2 separate regions of the Homo sapiens genome follow, and region 2 is linked to region 1. The links are contacts of gene promoters, found by promoter capture Hi-C in blood cells and fetal thymus (Javierre and others, 2016). All regions are on one chromosome and are shown on one strand. Each heading gives the region's core, a stretch centred on a gene start or on the middle of the fragment in contact. The rest is flanking DNA. Distances are from core to core; before and after follow the strand shown. Region 1 holds the start of COLEC12 (collectin subfamily member 12). Region 2 overlaps THOC1 (THO complex subunit 1).

Region 1 (7,397 bases), core at 4,111-6,610:
TTGCCAACCCCTCAAAGTGATACGCATACGTATGGTGGATCGTGATGATAAGATAATACCTGCTGTGGCCAGGCACTACCCCACCAAGACCCAGCAAGAAAGGGAAGCCAAAAGGTGGCTGAGCTAATGACCATGAACTCTCCTGGGGAGGGCCATAAAACTGCAAAGAAACTAACCATGGCAAAGAAGCTTGAAGAAGCTCTGTCTGTGAGAACTCTGAAGCCTCCTTTAGTCTGGCAGTGGAAGCTCTGCTGGGTCCTCCCAGTAGAGGATTCACGTGGTTTCTTCCTCCTCTTTCTTATTATGACCTATGTGTGTTACATGTATTTGCATAGTTATTGGTGTATGAAAGCCTTGCAATAAACCTTTGAAAGCATTTAATTAGCCATTATTGAGTCATTGTGAAACCTCCCACAGTGTTAAAGTAAGCACAGCTAGGCTGACTGGAACCTGACATGATAACATGGATACATGTAGTGACACAGTGCAGGAAATAGGATGTTTTCAGAGGCAGAACACGAGGCACAAAGCCTCATAGATGGGAATAAGCCCATGACGTGTGGGGAGACACTAAATAGCCTGGCTGACAGGGAGCAAAAGATGCTGCATAAGGAGGGAAGAGACAGGAATGGGAAGGAGGTAGTGGTAACCATGAACGTTGCTGGAATATTCTGGCGGCCAGCTGGAGAGGAAGCTTAGGGAGTGTCAGAGATCAAGTGCAGTGATCCCAGCAGGCAGCACAAATGGACTGTGGCTCTCTCTCCTCCAGTATTCTGCCTTGCCTTGATCTCCCTGGACTCTCAGCTTCTCTTCTACCCAAGGTGCCCATCAGGCTCTGCCCAAGTTCCTTTTATCACAGGCTGGAAACTCTCTCAAGGCAGAAAGCTGGAGAAACTACAGCGTTCAGCTTGTTTGTTTCCCATCTCTCATCTGTCCTTCGTGGCTGCTCTGGCTGCTGTGTGTTGGAGCCTGGAGTGGAGAAGGTGCCAAGGTGGGCGTGGGGAGGCCCTTTGGAAGGTTAGTGCAGCAGCTCAGATGGGCTATGATGGCCTCTACATGGGGGATGCAGTGGAGATGGAGAGACAGAGAAGTTTGAGATGTATTTCTAAGGTAGAAGCAGGGCTTGGTGAGGATGTAGAGTTGAGGGAGAGGGAGGAGTCAAGGGTGATTGGGCTTTTTCATCAGTATAAAGGTGATACTAGCATGGGGCTGGGGTGAGGGGAAGATGAGATGATGCTTCCTCCAGATTCTGAAACTTTAGTCTGAATGCAAGGCCTGGCTGCTGCTTCTGGGGGTGGGGAAGCTTGCCTGTGACCTGGAGGACCTGCAGGCCATCTTTGAGTTCAAAGCATCTTCAGCTCCATGGCTCAGTCCTTTCCAATCACATTCTTCTCTTCTTTCCTTTTCCCTTCTTTTCTCCCTGATCCCCAGCTCAATTCTCAATTCCTCCCAGAGCTCTTGACCAGAGAAATCCTGATCAGCTGATGATCTGCATGTGACCATGACCTTCCGTCTTCATATCCTCCAGAGTGGGGCTCAGAGGAGGCTCCACACTGAGGACCTGTGGGGCCCAACTCACTCTGTGCTGAAGGTGACAGGGTGGGGGGAGGAAGGCACTCATCCAGGATTCCTTCTTTTTTTAGAGATGGGTTTCACTCTGTTGCCCAGGCTGGAGTACAGTGGCATGATCCTAGCTCACTGCAGCCTCAAACTCTTGGGCCTAAGCAATCCTCCTGCCTCAGCCTGATGAGTAGCTGGGACTACAGATGCATGCCACCACACCCAGCTGATTTTTAAATTTTTTGTCTCACTATGTTGCCCAGGCTGGTCTTGAATTCATGGCCTCAAGTGACCTTCCTTCCCTGGCTTCCCAAAGCCCCGGGATGAGCCACCGCACCTGGTCCCAGGACTGTTCCTTAAAATTATCCTTAGAAAAGTTGCTAAGCCTGTTTTCTCATCAGTAGATCTATGAATCTGGCTCATTATCACAGCTGACATCATAGCCTTAGGGGTTTCTTGTTTGTTTTTTACCTTATCATTCTTCTGTTTGAATTTTTTTATTGTAGTCAAATATATATATTTATCATCTTAGCTATTTTTCAGTGTATAGTTCAGTGGCTTTAAGTATATTCACATTGTTGTGCAACCATCACCACCATCCATCTCCAGAATTCTTTTCATCCTGCCAAATGGAATCTTTGTGCCTGTGAAACAACTCCCCATCCCCCCCCCGGCAACCACCATTCTACTTTCTATCCCTATGCATTTTACTCTCTCTCTCTCTCTCTTTTTTTTTTTTTTTTTTTGAGATGGAGTCTCACTCTGTCGCCCAGGCTGGAGTGCAGTGGCGCGATCTCGGCTCACTGCAACCTCTGCCTCCGGGTTCAAGCGATTCTTCCACCTCAGCCTCCCAAGTAGGTGGGACTACAGGTGCCAGCCACCATGCCTGGCTAATTTTCGTATATTTAGTAGAGACAGGGGTTTCAGTATGTTGGCGAGGCTGGTCTCAAACTCCCGACCTCGTGATTGACCTGCCTTGGCCTCCCAAACTGCTGGGATTACAGGCGTGAGCCACCACGTCTGGCGGCATTTTACTCTCTTTTATAAGTAGAATCATATTGGTCCTTTTGTGACTGGCTTATTTCACAAAGCATAATGCCTCAAGTTTTATCCGTGTTGTAGCATGTGTTAGAATTTCCTCCCTTTTAAAGACTGAATCATATTCCACTGTATGGCTATACCATATTTTGTTTATCCATTCATTCAACAGTGAACACTAGGTTGTTCCACCTTTTGGCTATTGTGAGTAATGTTGCTATGAGCCTGGATGTACATCTATTTGTTACCCTGCTTTCACCTCTTTTGGGTCCCAGAAATAGAATTCCTGGACTATATGGTAATTGTGTGTTTAATTTTTGGAGAAATCACCATACTGTTTTCCATAGTGGCTGTACCATTTTACATTCCCACCAGCAATGCACAAAAGTTCTAATTTCTCCGCATCCTCGCCAACACTTATTTTGTTTTGTTTTTTTTTTTAAATAGCCATCTTACTGGGTATGAAGTAGTAGCTCATTGCGGTTGATTCAAATTTCCCTGACAATTAGTGATTGAATATCCTTCATGTACTTATTGGCCATTATATGTCTTCTGTGGAGAAATGTCCATGTCAGTCCTTGGTTCATTTTCAAATTGGGTTGCCTGTTTTGTTGTTGTTGCTGAGGTGCAGGAATCCTTTATATATCCTGGATATTAATCCTGTATCAGATATAGGGCTTTTGCACATATTTTCTCCTATTCTGTGGGTTGGCTTTCCACTCTGTTTATACTGGCCTTTGAGGCACAAAAGTCTGATGAAGTACAATTTATCTATATTTTTTCTTTTGCTGCCTGTACTTTTGGTGTCATATTCATAATTTGGGTTTTAAAAACGATTTTTTTTTTTCGGCAGGGCGTGGTGGCTCACGCCTGTAATCCCAGCTCTTTGTGAGGCTGATGCCTGCGGATCGCTTGAGGTACGGTTTGCGAGCAGCCTGGCCACCATGGTGAAACCCCGTCTCTACTAAAAATACAAAAATTAGCTGGGCTTGGTGGCCCACCCCTGTAGTCCCAGCTACTTGGGAGGCTGAGGTGGGAGAATTGCTTGAATTCAGGAGGCAGAGGTTGTAGTGAGCCAAGATTGTGCCTGGGCGACAGAGTGAGATTCCGTCTCAAAAAAAAAAAAAAAAAAAAAGAAAGAAAGAAAAAAAAGAAAGCCGGGCGCGGTGGCTCACGCCTGTAACCCCAACACTTTGGGAGGCAGAGGTGGGCGGATCACGAGGTCAGGAGTTCGAGACCAGCCTGGCCAACATAGTGAAACCCCGTCTCTACTAAAAACACAAAAAAATTAGCTGGGCCTGGTGGCACACGCATGTAATCCCAGCTACTCGGGAGGCCGAGGCAGGAGAATCGCTTGAACCCGGGAGGTGGAGGTTGCAGTGAGCCGAGGTCACGCCATTGGTTAGTAAACTCCGGGCTGAAAATTCATATCCTAAGCTCCCTTCAGGGATCCCCATTTGCCCTGAAAGACAAGGCTGGTGCCCCAGTGAGATCTGAAACATGCTCCAGGACCAGGACCCTGTAGTTTCATCAACTGCAGACAGTGCGGGGGAAAAAGCATTTCGGTCTTTTCATTTGTTCGTCATGTTCAAGGTGCCCCCTTATGTTAAAAAATTAAAAAAAAAAAAAAAGAAAGAAAAAAGAAATCTCCTGGAACGGAGAATCTATGAAATGTTTCAATATGTATTCATTTTGGGGCACTACCTTTTACTAGAGCAAAGAATCCCCTACTTAGAGGGAACCAATGGATTGGTTACACCGTGTTACCAAGTCCTCAGGAGGGCAAACTGAAAAGCTGCAAGCACTGCCCGGCCAGTGTTCGATTGCTTTTGGTGGACTAGTGCGTCTGAGTAGCCATCTGTAATGTCAACATGTGGCAGAAAGTTTCTCCGCACCTCCCTCGCCCCAGCTCCACTCACCACTTAGTGTATGTTTTAAAGCAATAAAGCGATGGGTCTGCTTAGAGGGGGTTCTAAAGAGAAAGATAAACACGGGCTTTATTAAGTATACAGCAGGGCAATGTGACGGGCGACCACGAAGGGAACTCAGGGAGCCTCTCAGCAGCCCGGCCTCCTTTCGTAACAAAACTGGAGTCAACCCGATCATTTTAGGGGCGCTGGGTGGAAGGCTGGCTTTTCCAGCCAAGGCAGGATGTGCTGGCTTTTTCTCTGGAGGTGTCCAAGAGCGCAGAGAGAGTGTCTAATGGTGACTTCGGATTCTGGCCACTCGGGCTCTCCCTGGGTGACAGAGAGAGTGTTCCCTGCTGCTTGGTCTCCTTCAGGCGTCAACCAGCGCACGCACTTGGAAACTCTGAACCCGGAGGACGTTCTGTACCTCTCCATGCCCCAGAGCCGTTTGGGGAAGGGCCCACCTTACCCCCCGCCACCCCCGGGGCACAGCAGCTCCCCATCCTCTCGCCCAACACTTGCTAGGTAGTTTGGGGTGTAGAAGCGACCCCAGCAGCAGCGGCACCTTAGGTGCTCGCCGAAGGTGAACGCTGGACCGCCCCGGGAAGGGCTTTGCTCCCGACTTCATCCCGACGCTGGTGCAACGGGAAAAAGAGAGAGCCCGCGCGAGTGGGGCCAGGGCGCGCAGGAGAGGGCGGGCGAGAAAGTGCCCGGCGAGGGCAGGCGCGGGCCGAGGGCGGGGCGGGCGCGGGAGGGCGCGAGAGGGGCGTGGGCGCGGCCGCTCGCTCGGCCGGGTCGGGCCAGGGGGAGGGGCGCTGGGAGAGCGAGAGCGGCGCGCGCGGCAGCCCCGAGGCAGCAGAGCGCGGAGCCGGGAGCGCGGGGAGCGCGGGCCGGCGGCGGCGAGGGAGGACGGGGGCGCAGACGGCCGGCGCGCGGCGCGGCTACCATGGGCGTGCGGTGAGCAGCCGCTCGGGACGACTTCCTCGGCTGCGCGGCGCTCGCGCGGAGCTCCCCGGCCGGCGGTGCGTCCCCACGGTCACCATGAAAGGTAGGGCGGCGGCAGCTCCGCGGGGCTCTGGGCGGGGGGAACGGGCTTCGGGGCGCGCGGGAGGCCACGGAGGTGCCTCCCGCGCGAACCTTCCCTTGGGCTGCGGGCCCGGGGAGTCGGGGCTGCCAGGGCGCCGGGTTCGTGCGCGGACACTGGGGGCGCACCCGGCTCCCGGGTCAGGCGCGGCTGGAGACCTCGAGGTTGGGGTTTTGAAGCGCGCAAGTATTCCCCTCCCCATCGCGTCTTTGCAAGTAGTTTGAAGCCCTAAGTCGTTGTTTACGGATTCCCGTTTCCAACTTTTTAATTGAAAAAACCTGCCGAGGAGAGTGGAGGCATCGCCATCCCTCCCGGTCGCTTTTCCACGCCGCAGCGCTCCCCACGCTCGCCCAGTCCTCTCTCCTCCCGCCTCTAGCCGTTTCCCGGCCCGAGCGGTCCCCGCGCTGGCGGCCGGGTGTTTTCTCCGGGACTGGGGATGTTCTCCGTGCGCCCTCGCCACATCTGGCAATGATTAGGTGCCCGAGGAGTTCAGCTGGCTCGGGAAGTGCATTTGGCATCTTTCTCCATCAGATTCACCGACTGGAAAATAGTTGCCCTCGGTTCCGCGTCCCTTCCACGTGCCCGCCTTGGGGTGTGCCCACTGGTGTTTTGGGGTGACACACCTCAGCTGGTTAGTCGCCCCCTGCGCGGTGTCCTCTGCAGGCCGGTTTATGGAAGTGTCAGATGTTATCGTACTTTAGAAAGAAGCACGAGAAGGACTGCAGGGCAGCCTTCTGTTTAGTGGAAACACGGAGATTTGTCAGCGGAATCCTGATTTATGTATGAGATAAGTAACCGCAGCGGAGGCATCAAAGAGTCGTTCAGGAATGGGCCCGCGTGGTGTTTACACAAGGCTTCGTGTGAGAGTTGCTGGTTCTGTGCTAGGATAACACAGCCCTGCGTGGGTGCGAAATGCCATCTGACCGCGGTCACCCCGCTTCCAGCCGCCACAGACCTGGCGATGCAATCGCTTTGACTTCTAGGGTTGCCGTCCGAGGGAGGCGCCCGGGAAGCCCCAAGGCGCTTGGAAAGTAACTTTTGGCTCTGGAAAGTTTTTTTTCTGAAGGGCAGCTCCCGCGGAACTAACCGGAGCGATGATATCCTACCAATTCACTCCCTTTCCAAGGGCGTTAGGTGTCCACGTCGGGAGACCTCGGGAAGGGAGGTGACTGATGGCCAGGTGAAAAGTGGTCTGCCCCAGGGAAAAAGAAACAAAAGACACGATACAACTGCCTACCTAGAGAATTTCAAAATGCAGTGGCTTGCTTTCCTTCTGTCTCCATCTCAGTTTCTCTTCCCTCATTTACATTCTAGGAAATACACACATTCCTTAGCTGGCTCTGATTGAGGAGACTCCCTAGAAAGGAAAGAATTTCACATGGCTAAAAGTTATCTGGGGCTCAGTTATCATTTTAGCCAGAAGTGAATCTTCTCTGCTGGTCATTAAGACCAGTGGTTTTTAAAACTTGGGAAGATTAACCACCTACCCACTCCATCAGCTCCCACGTGGGTTCTTAAACCCTGAAACTTTTGTTATGCTTTTTACTGGGTAAAGGACCGCTATTGCACTTGAGACACTTTTCCACTTTACATTTGCACTGGAAAACATACCCAGAAGTCCTAAACACATTTTTGGAGAGATTTATGCTGCATTCTGGACCAGATGGTGGCCTACCCGCTGTGGTCTAGCGCTGCCCAGAAGCCCCATACACTTTCCGCCCCAGTCGGGGAGGTTGATGGAGGGACGGACTGGTGAATCCCCGGGTAGACTAATCATTTTGAAGCCCTCTTTTAAAAACGAAAATATT
Region 2 (7,369 bases), core at 2,675-5,174, 260 kb after region 1:
CTACAAGATTATGTAAAGTTTCTAGTCAAGATGGCACATTGAGTTTATGTTTCGACTCACTCCCTTTGCTCCAAACACATAGCAATGACGGGTAAAATATAAACGAGAAAACAAAAGAGACAAGGCTGGGCTTCCAGAAACAAGATAAATATCTTCATGGACCAGAAATGCCAAGTAGTGAGCAAAACTGCAGCCTGGGCCTGCTGGACTCTCTATCCAAGGCAGGTGGTGGTGTCCAGGAATTTGGCTACAAGTAACAGAGACTAAATGTGCACCATGTGGGACAAGGGGCCAGAGCCAGATTCACTTCTTGAAGCCAAGGACTAGGGTGGAACTTTTATCCAGTTTTGGGAAGAAACTAAGAAAAAATATTGCCAGTCTTCTGCCAAGGGCTATGGTTTTATAGGAAGTTGTGAGCCTAGGGATAACAAAGACAGCTTTGTGTCCATCTGCTTGCTCAGTGACCAGATATGTGATATGCTCAGTATACTTATGAAACAGCTGCTCCAAGAAGTCATCATAAGACTTCTTCTAGACTTTTGGACTCAGGGGCCCTGGTAGAAGCAGATGCAAAACTGCTAGACAGGGAAGGATGTACACAGAGAGGGAGGGGAAAGGAAGTAAACAAACATCCCAAAAGAAAAGGCTCCTGTTCAAAACTCTGATAAATTAAAATTCCAAAATCCATAAATCTAATGCTAAGAAGGATCACCAGCAAAATCAACTATTGGGATATATATATATATTTATTCCAGATGAAATATATAGCCTGACCAAGACTTTATGTATGTTTTGGATACTCAAAAAGATAATCGATGAGATAACATCCATTGAAAAGGAACAAGAAATCATGAAACAAAAGCAGGCTGAAATGAAGTAGGACAGTCGATACAACTAATCGGGAGTCTTGGGAATGAAAAATACAATAATTGAAACCAAAACTCAGCACACAGAATTAAACTATACACTGGACATAGATGAACAAAGAACTAGTGAACTGAAGAAGGTGATGAGAACTTCATCCAGCAAGCAGCACAGACAGATTTTTTTTTTTTAAGTGGAAGAGCAGTTAAAAGCCATGGTGAATAGATTGGGAATTTCCAACATCTGTCTAGTAGGATTTCCAAAGAAGAAAATGGAGGGAATGGTAGAGAAACTGGATTGCAAAGAATTGAAGGAAATCTCAAATCCTCAGCTTAAAAGTGTGTCACAACTGCCAAGCAGGATAAAGAAAGATAAATCTACTCTTCATTACATCATGCCATAACTGTGGGCATTCAGAGAAAACCTAAAAGCCACTAAGGGATAAGAAAGACAAATATACTGGGAAGGCACAGCAGTTTGACTGTTAGCAGATTTCTAACATATCAACCATTAATACCAGAAGACAGTAGAGAAATATTAAAGTGCTGAAAGAAAAATGACATTCAATCTAGAATTTTATACCGAGTTAAATATACTCAAGACTGTCGATGAAAGAAAGACATTTTTATTTAAAGACCAGGATAACTTACCACTCAGTGACCCTCATTTTGAAAAAAACTACTCAAGGATGTTCTTCAGGAGGAAGGAAATTGAACCCATAAGAATGGAGTGGGATACAGAAGGCAACGGTGAGCACAAAAATTGAAAAATATGACAGTAAATTTACTATTGACTATAAACACAAAAAAGTCATGAATGATTTAAAATTTTTTTAATTAAAAAATTTTATTAACGTGGAACTTAACTAGATGACAGTAATAATATGGAAGGGGAAAGCAGAGATGTTTAGTGAGTAATTTAAAATTATGGCAGTCCTTGTAATCTTCAGGAGTAGGAAAGGAATACTGAATATTCCTTTTCATGTATATTAAAAGGGTAACCACCAAAAGAAAACCAACTTGTTGCTCTCAAAGAACAGAGATCAAAGGGAGGCAGGGAGGAATCTAGACCACTTTATAAATCCAGCGAATGGCAGAAAAAAGGAAGAGAAAGGAGGAGAGAAATAGGTCAGTAATAACAAGTATAGACTGATTTAATATACCTAATAAGACTTTATCAGATTGGATTTTTAAAACTCCAGCTATATTTGTTAATTTAAATGAAACAAATATAGAAACCTTTTGGTTAACTAAAGAATTCAAAAGTTTTATTCTACTTCATGTGTAAGAAAATCCCAAAGCTCTTCTTGCTTAACAAAGAACCTTCCCAAGGTTACCTACTTTTAGAATGCAGAGGTGTCAGTTTAATATTATCAGGGCAAAAAAGTTACAAAATAAAACAACCAGTAAGAGTTGTGTATTTTTAAGAGTTACAGGTCCACATTTCTCAGGACATGACAGCTATTTCAAAACTCTGGATGTCTTAATTGATATATATATATATATTTTTTTTTGAGACGGAGTTTTGCTCTGTCGCCCAGGCTGGAGTGCAATGGCGTGGTCTTGGCTCACTGCAACCTCTGCCACCTGGGTTTAAGCGATTCTCCTGCCTCCACCTCCCGAACAAATAGCATTTCTAAAGACATTTTAGTAATGAAAAACAGCAGGATTAAACATTTTCAGAGAAATCTCCACATTGGAATATGGGATTGATGCTTTTATATCATTCTCCATTCACTTTGTCACACTTGGCTTTCTAATAGTATCTCTCCTTTTCTGATTCTTTGTGAACTTGCTTTCACCAGCAGTTAGAACATGAACTTTCAGGATTAAGCACTGAAATTTCATTAATTAATATCACATCACGAGGAAGGTAAAAACAGCTTTGAGAAGCTTAAAACTTACCATAGGAGTAAGAAAAAGGCACAAAATTGTACCAAAGAGAATGTGAGGCATGTAATGTTTTGCATCTTCATTTCCCTTTGTTGCCCCTTAAGCAACAACTTTGTCTTAAATTTACAGTCCTCTTTGTACATTCTTCATATTTTTTGGTGTATTTTTAGTTTTTACTACTTAATATACAAGTGAAAATATTTGTAATGCATTACGTGTATCATGGAAAATATGCAACATTTTATAAGCTTTACTGCTGCACTGAAAGAAGCCTTCCAGCATCTCTGTACCTTACATGGTGTTTTGATACTAGGATTCCCAAAAAGGCCTTCACACCTAAATATATGCCAGTTTTGGGCCTGATGTTACTTTCAACTTTTGATATAGATTTGGTAAGTCATGAGAAAGGTCTGGATTTTTCAGGGATATGGGTGCCATATTCCTTGCCAGTAAGAGCTAGCTAAAGTGAAATCTAAAGCTATGATTATTTGGAGCATAACTCTTTAGCCTATCATTTCACTGGTGAGCAGGTTTAGAAAAGTGCTTGTCATTACAAGGTTAGATCTTTCATCTCTGTAATAGAGCCGTGACCCCATCCAATGGGAATATTATCCAGAAGCATTGTGTTTTGTTACATGAATCTGGTCAGACTTTTCCTTAGGGATAGTCCGGAAACAATGCTTGGCAAGGATGATACAAACTTTTTTTTTTTTTTTGAGACACTTTTTTTTTGGCCCACTGTAACTTCCACCTCCTGGGTTCAAGCGATTCTCGTGCCTCAGCCTCCCAAGTAGCTGGGATTACAGGCGCCCAACACCACGCCTGGCCAATTTTTGTATTTTTAATAGAGACAGGTTTTTTGCCATGTTGGCCAGGCTGGTCTCGAACTCGCAGCCTCAGGTGATCTGCCTGCCTCAGCCTTCCAAAGTGCAGGGATTACAGGCGTGAGCCACCACGCCCAGCCAGATGATATAAACTTTATAGTTGGAGATAGGCCAGTCATGTGGCAACTACAGGTAGGTAGAGGTTCTACAAATAAAATGGGTGTCTTTGTAAATTATTGTGTCTTCCTTCTTAAAGAAAGAAGTTTCCCCTAGAAACAAAGTGCCACATTTTTGTACTACCTGGAGTGTGATTCTGAATACTAGTGCCCAACAGTATAGTTCCCTTTTTAGCAGAGCAAAATAATCCAGGGTTACTACTTGCTAAATGTAGTGCTGATACACCTGGGTTGCTTATTTTCTAATGCAGTGGAAAAGTATCTGTTCTTTAAGGTTAGTCCAGGATCATACTCAGAAATGTTAAGGGAGGATTTTACCTCTAATTGTTCAACTTATACCAAATAAAAGGCACTGGTATTGTAGGGATTCCTCCCTCTGTACTATGTAGCATGTAAAAGCAGAACAACATTTCAAAATGTTTAAGTACCATGAGTATTACCATGATGGTTAAAGGAATATATTTTTGGATCTTTTAAGTTCTCACAGAAAAGAGTATAATAACACTAATTAGATATAGGCTTTAGGGTTACCCAGTCCTTCAGAATAATACACTTCTCACTTTCCATCTGAGACTCAATGACCAAAATGATCAGATGGAATACTCAGTGGCTAGCAGTTACCAGGGTGAGGTTACCCACAGTTATGTACTGTTGACCCTAGTGTGGTCATTAGGCCATTCATTTTCATGGAGAAAAGAAAATTCACAATTTTGCTTGGTCTCTGCATTGTGTGAAGAGGCCTCTAGTTAGGACTTTTGGTCATTTTTTAAAAAAAAGTTCCTGGCAGTAAGAAACTATCCATATAGTCATTCTGCCTTAAATGTTTTGTACTTTTTATGTCCATTTGAGAGGTTGAATCTTTATGTAGTAACGGCTAAGGTGGGTCTCTTATAAGATATACTATAGCCTAGCTAGGAGCAAATGAAGGCAGAAGCAAGACCCTCCTGTTAACAAGTGGGCAGGCTAACCACTATGCTACAATTTTTTTTTTTATCTCATTAGTTGTTCTCGGCATGGGAGGCTTTTAGATAGCTCTGGAACAGGGTTGCACAGCAGGAGGTGAGCAGTGGGCAAGCAAGCGAAGCTTCATCTGTATTTACAGCTGCTCTCCATCACTCATATTACCACCTGAGCTCCGTCTCCTATCAGATCAGCAGCAGCATTAGATTCTCATAGGAACATGAACCCTATTGTAAACTGATCATGAGGGATCTAGGTTGTGTGCTCCTTATGAGAATCTAATGCCTGATGATCTGTCACTGTCTCCCACCAACCCCAGATGGGACCTTCTAGTTGCAGGTAAACAAGCTCAGGGCTTCCACTGATTCTACATTATGGTGAGTTGTATATGTATTTCATTATATATTACAATATATTAATAATAGAAATGAAGTACACAATAAATGTAATGCACTTGAATCATCCCAAAACCATTCCCTCTACCCCATAACCCCTGGTCTGTGGAAAAATTGTCTTCCATGAAACCAGTCCCTGGTGCCAAAAAGGTTGGGGATCCCTGCTTTAGAAGTCTTTTGCTGACAGTCATGTCAGTCTTAGCATATGGGTGTGCTTTCACTCGTCCTGTAAAGGTAAATACTATAGCCAAAACCTTTTCATATGATTGTAAAATTGACTTGTAATGGTCTTCAGGGCGGAAAGCATGAACTACCCTCTGTTTTGACATTTTTGAACTCTGGTCCTGACAGATAGAACAGTTCTTTAAATATCATTGAGCATATTACAAAACTTAGAGCATACTCTGCCATTGTTATTTTTAGAATAACCTCTGTGTGTGAGTCAAGCCATGGTTATACAAGCAAGATAAGAAAGTAAAGTGATTGATGCTACCAAGTAGCAGCCCTCTAGGAAAGACCAAAGACAGGGTGCAGAAGATGTACTGCCAAAGTAGGCTCTGAATTTGGAGCCTAATCTTGAAGAGAGGCAAAGTCTGAAAGGCTTAGCAGAGGAGACTAGTTATTTGATAAGATAAAGAGCAGAGATAGAATAAGAAGTCACCCAACCTTCTTATTAGCCAAAGTAATAGAAATTAATACTGACTATAACAGAAAGACCATTACAAATTTTAGATCCTCTAGAAATGAGAACTCTCATTATTTTTACAACAGTGTATAGTCATGATTACACAAAAGCATAACAAAGTCATATTTTAAATGTTAATAGACCTTTGAAAAGAAAATGTTCTCTGATGAGGACAATAATTTTGGACTCCTGGACAGACTCTGTAGAGGGCAAAAAATTATTACCTGGTTATAAATGGACTTCATACCCAGAGGAAAAAAAAATTTTTTCTCTGTGTTAATTGGGCTCCCTCCTCTATTATATACAAGTGTTTATTAGTTTTCAGTATACTTTGATATGCATGTTTTAATAGATCAGTGTTTAATAACAGTATTATTTAAAACTTTGGTTTTTAAAACAATTCTATCATGTTTAATATGTAAACATTAACTGATTTATTTCATCCTGAGTGTTATGAAGAACAAACATGTTAAGGTATAGTCAGAGATACATAGGTTTAAAAACATATGAATCAGGCCAGGCACAATGGCTCACGCCTGTGTCCCAGCACTCTGGGAGGCCGAGGCAGACAGATCACTTGAGGTCAGGTGTTTGAGACCAGCCTGGCCAACACAGCGAAACTCTGTCTGTACTAAAAATACAAAAAATTAGCCGGGCGTGGTGGCAGGTGCCTATGATCCCAGCTACTCGGGAGGCTGAGGTAGGAGAATTGCGTAAACCTAGGAGGCAGAGGTTGCAGTGAGCTGAGATCACACCACTGCACTCCATCCTGGGCAACAGAGCGAGACTCTGTCTCAAAAAATAAATAAATAAAATAAATAAAAGTATCGTATGTTAGGGACTTTTTATGTTTTCTGTGTCTGAATTTTAACTTTTTGTAGAAATTTTTTCAATACTCTGTAATCCTATAGAATATTAAAACTTTACCGGATAGCGTAAGAATATTCTGTAAATTCATATAATTTTCAGTATTGTCTGAGATTTATGAAAACCAATATATAAACACTGGCTGTTTAATCACAGCTTGATTTAGTTGTTCACCCATGTTTATGTGTAAATAATCCTGAGTTAATAATAGAGGTAACAACAAAATAACCAATGTTAATTAGAAAGTTTCATTTTAGCCTTTTAAAGGTAGAAAAGTCTTATGTTTATTAAAATTCTATATTTGTATCTTTTTTCTACCTTGTGGTTTAATCAAAGAAAAGTCATAAAGTCATCTTTTAAACTGAAAACTTTCAAACAGTACTAATGTAAAACATTAAAGAGTTTGTTTTACATTGACTATGAGTATTAAGGAAAATGAAATTTAAATTTTTGATATTTATTTTATTGAGGAATACTGTAGCCTTCTAAGTCTACTTCACAGTACAGTCATGCACCCCATAATGGCACCACATAACAACCACATAACTGGTCAACAGTGGACCCCATGTACAACAGTGGTTCTGTAAGATTATAGATTATATAATACTGTGTTTTTACTTTGCCTTTTCTATGTTTAGATACACAAATCCTTAACCATTGTGTTACAGTTGCTTACAGTATTCAGTGCAGTAACATGCTCTACAGG

What was found. The method cuts DNA at HindIII sites, captures the fragments that hold promoters and counts their contacts. A CHiCAGO score of 5 or more calls a contact.
Region 2: a contact is called between a fragment that was not itself captured here and the fragment with the promoter of COLEC12 in region 1, in 2 of 17 cell types (M2 macrophages and monocytes). The highest score is 9.0, in M2 macrophages.

Annotation. Positions count from the first base shown.
Region 1 is chr18:498,664-506,060 of GRCh38, reverse strand. COLEC12 (collectin subfamily member 12) reads left to right here and starts at 5,360. Exons shown (of 10, transcript NM_130386.3): 1 at 5,360-5,553. The coding sequence starts at 5,547. RefSeq lists a silencer at 70-249. The HindIII fragment of the contact is 13,067 bases long and covers 1,306-7,397 here.
Region 2 is chr18:238,546-245,914 of GRCh38, reverse strand. All of the region lies in intron 11 of THOC1 (THO complex subunit 1), which reads left to right. Among named protein-coding and RNA genes, the nearest start is that of THOC1, 26 kb to the left of the region's middle. The HindIII fragment of the contact is 1,836 bases long and covers 3,007-4,842 here.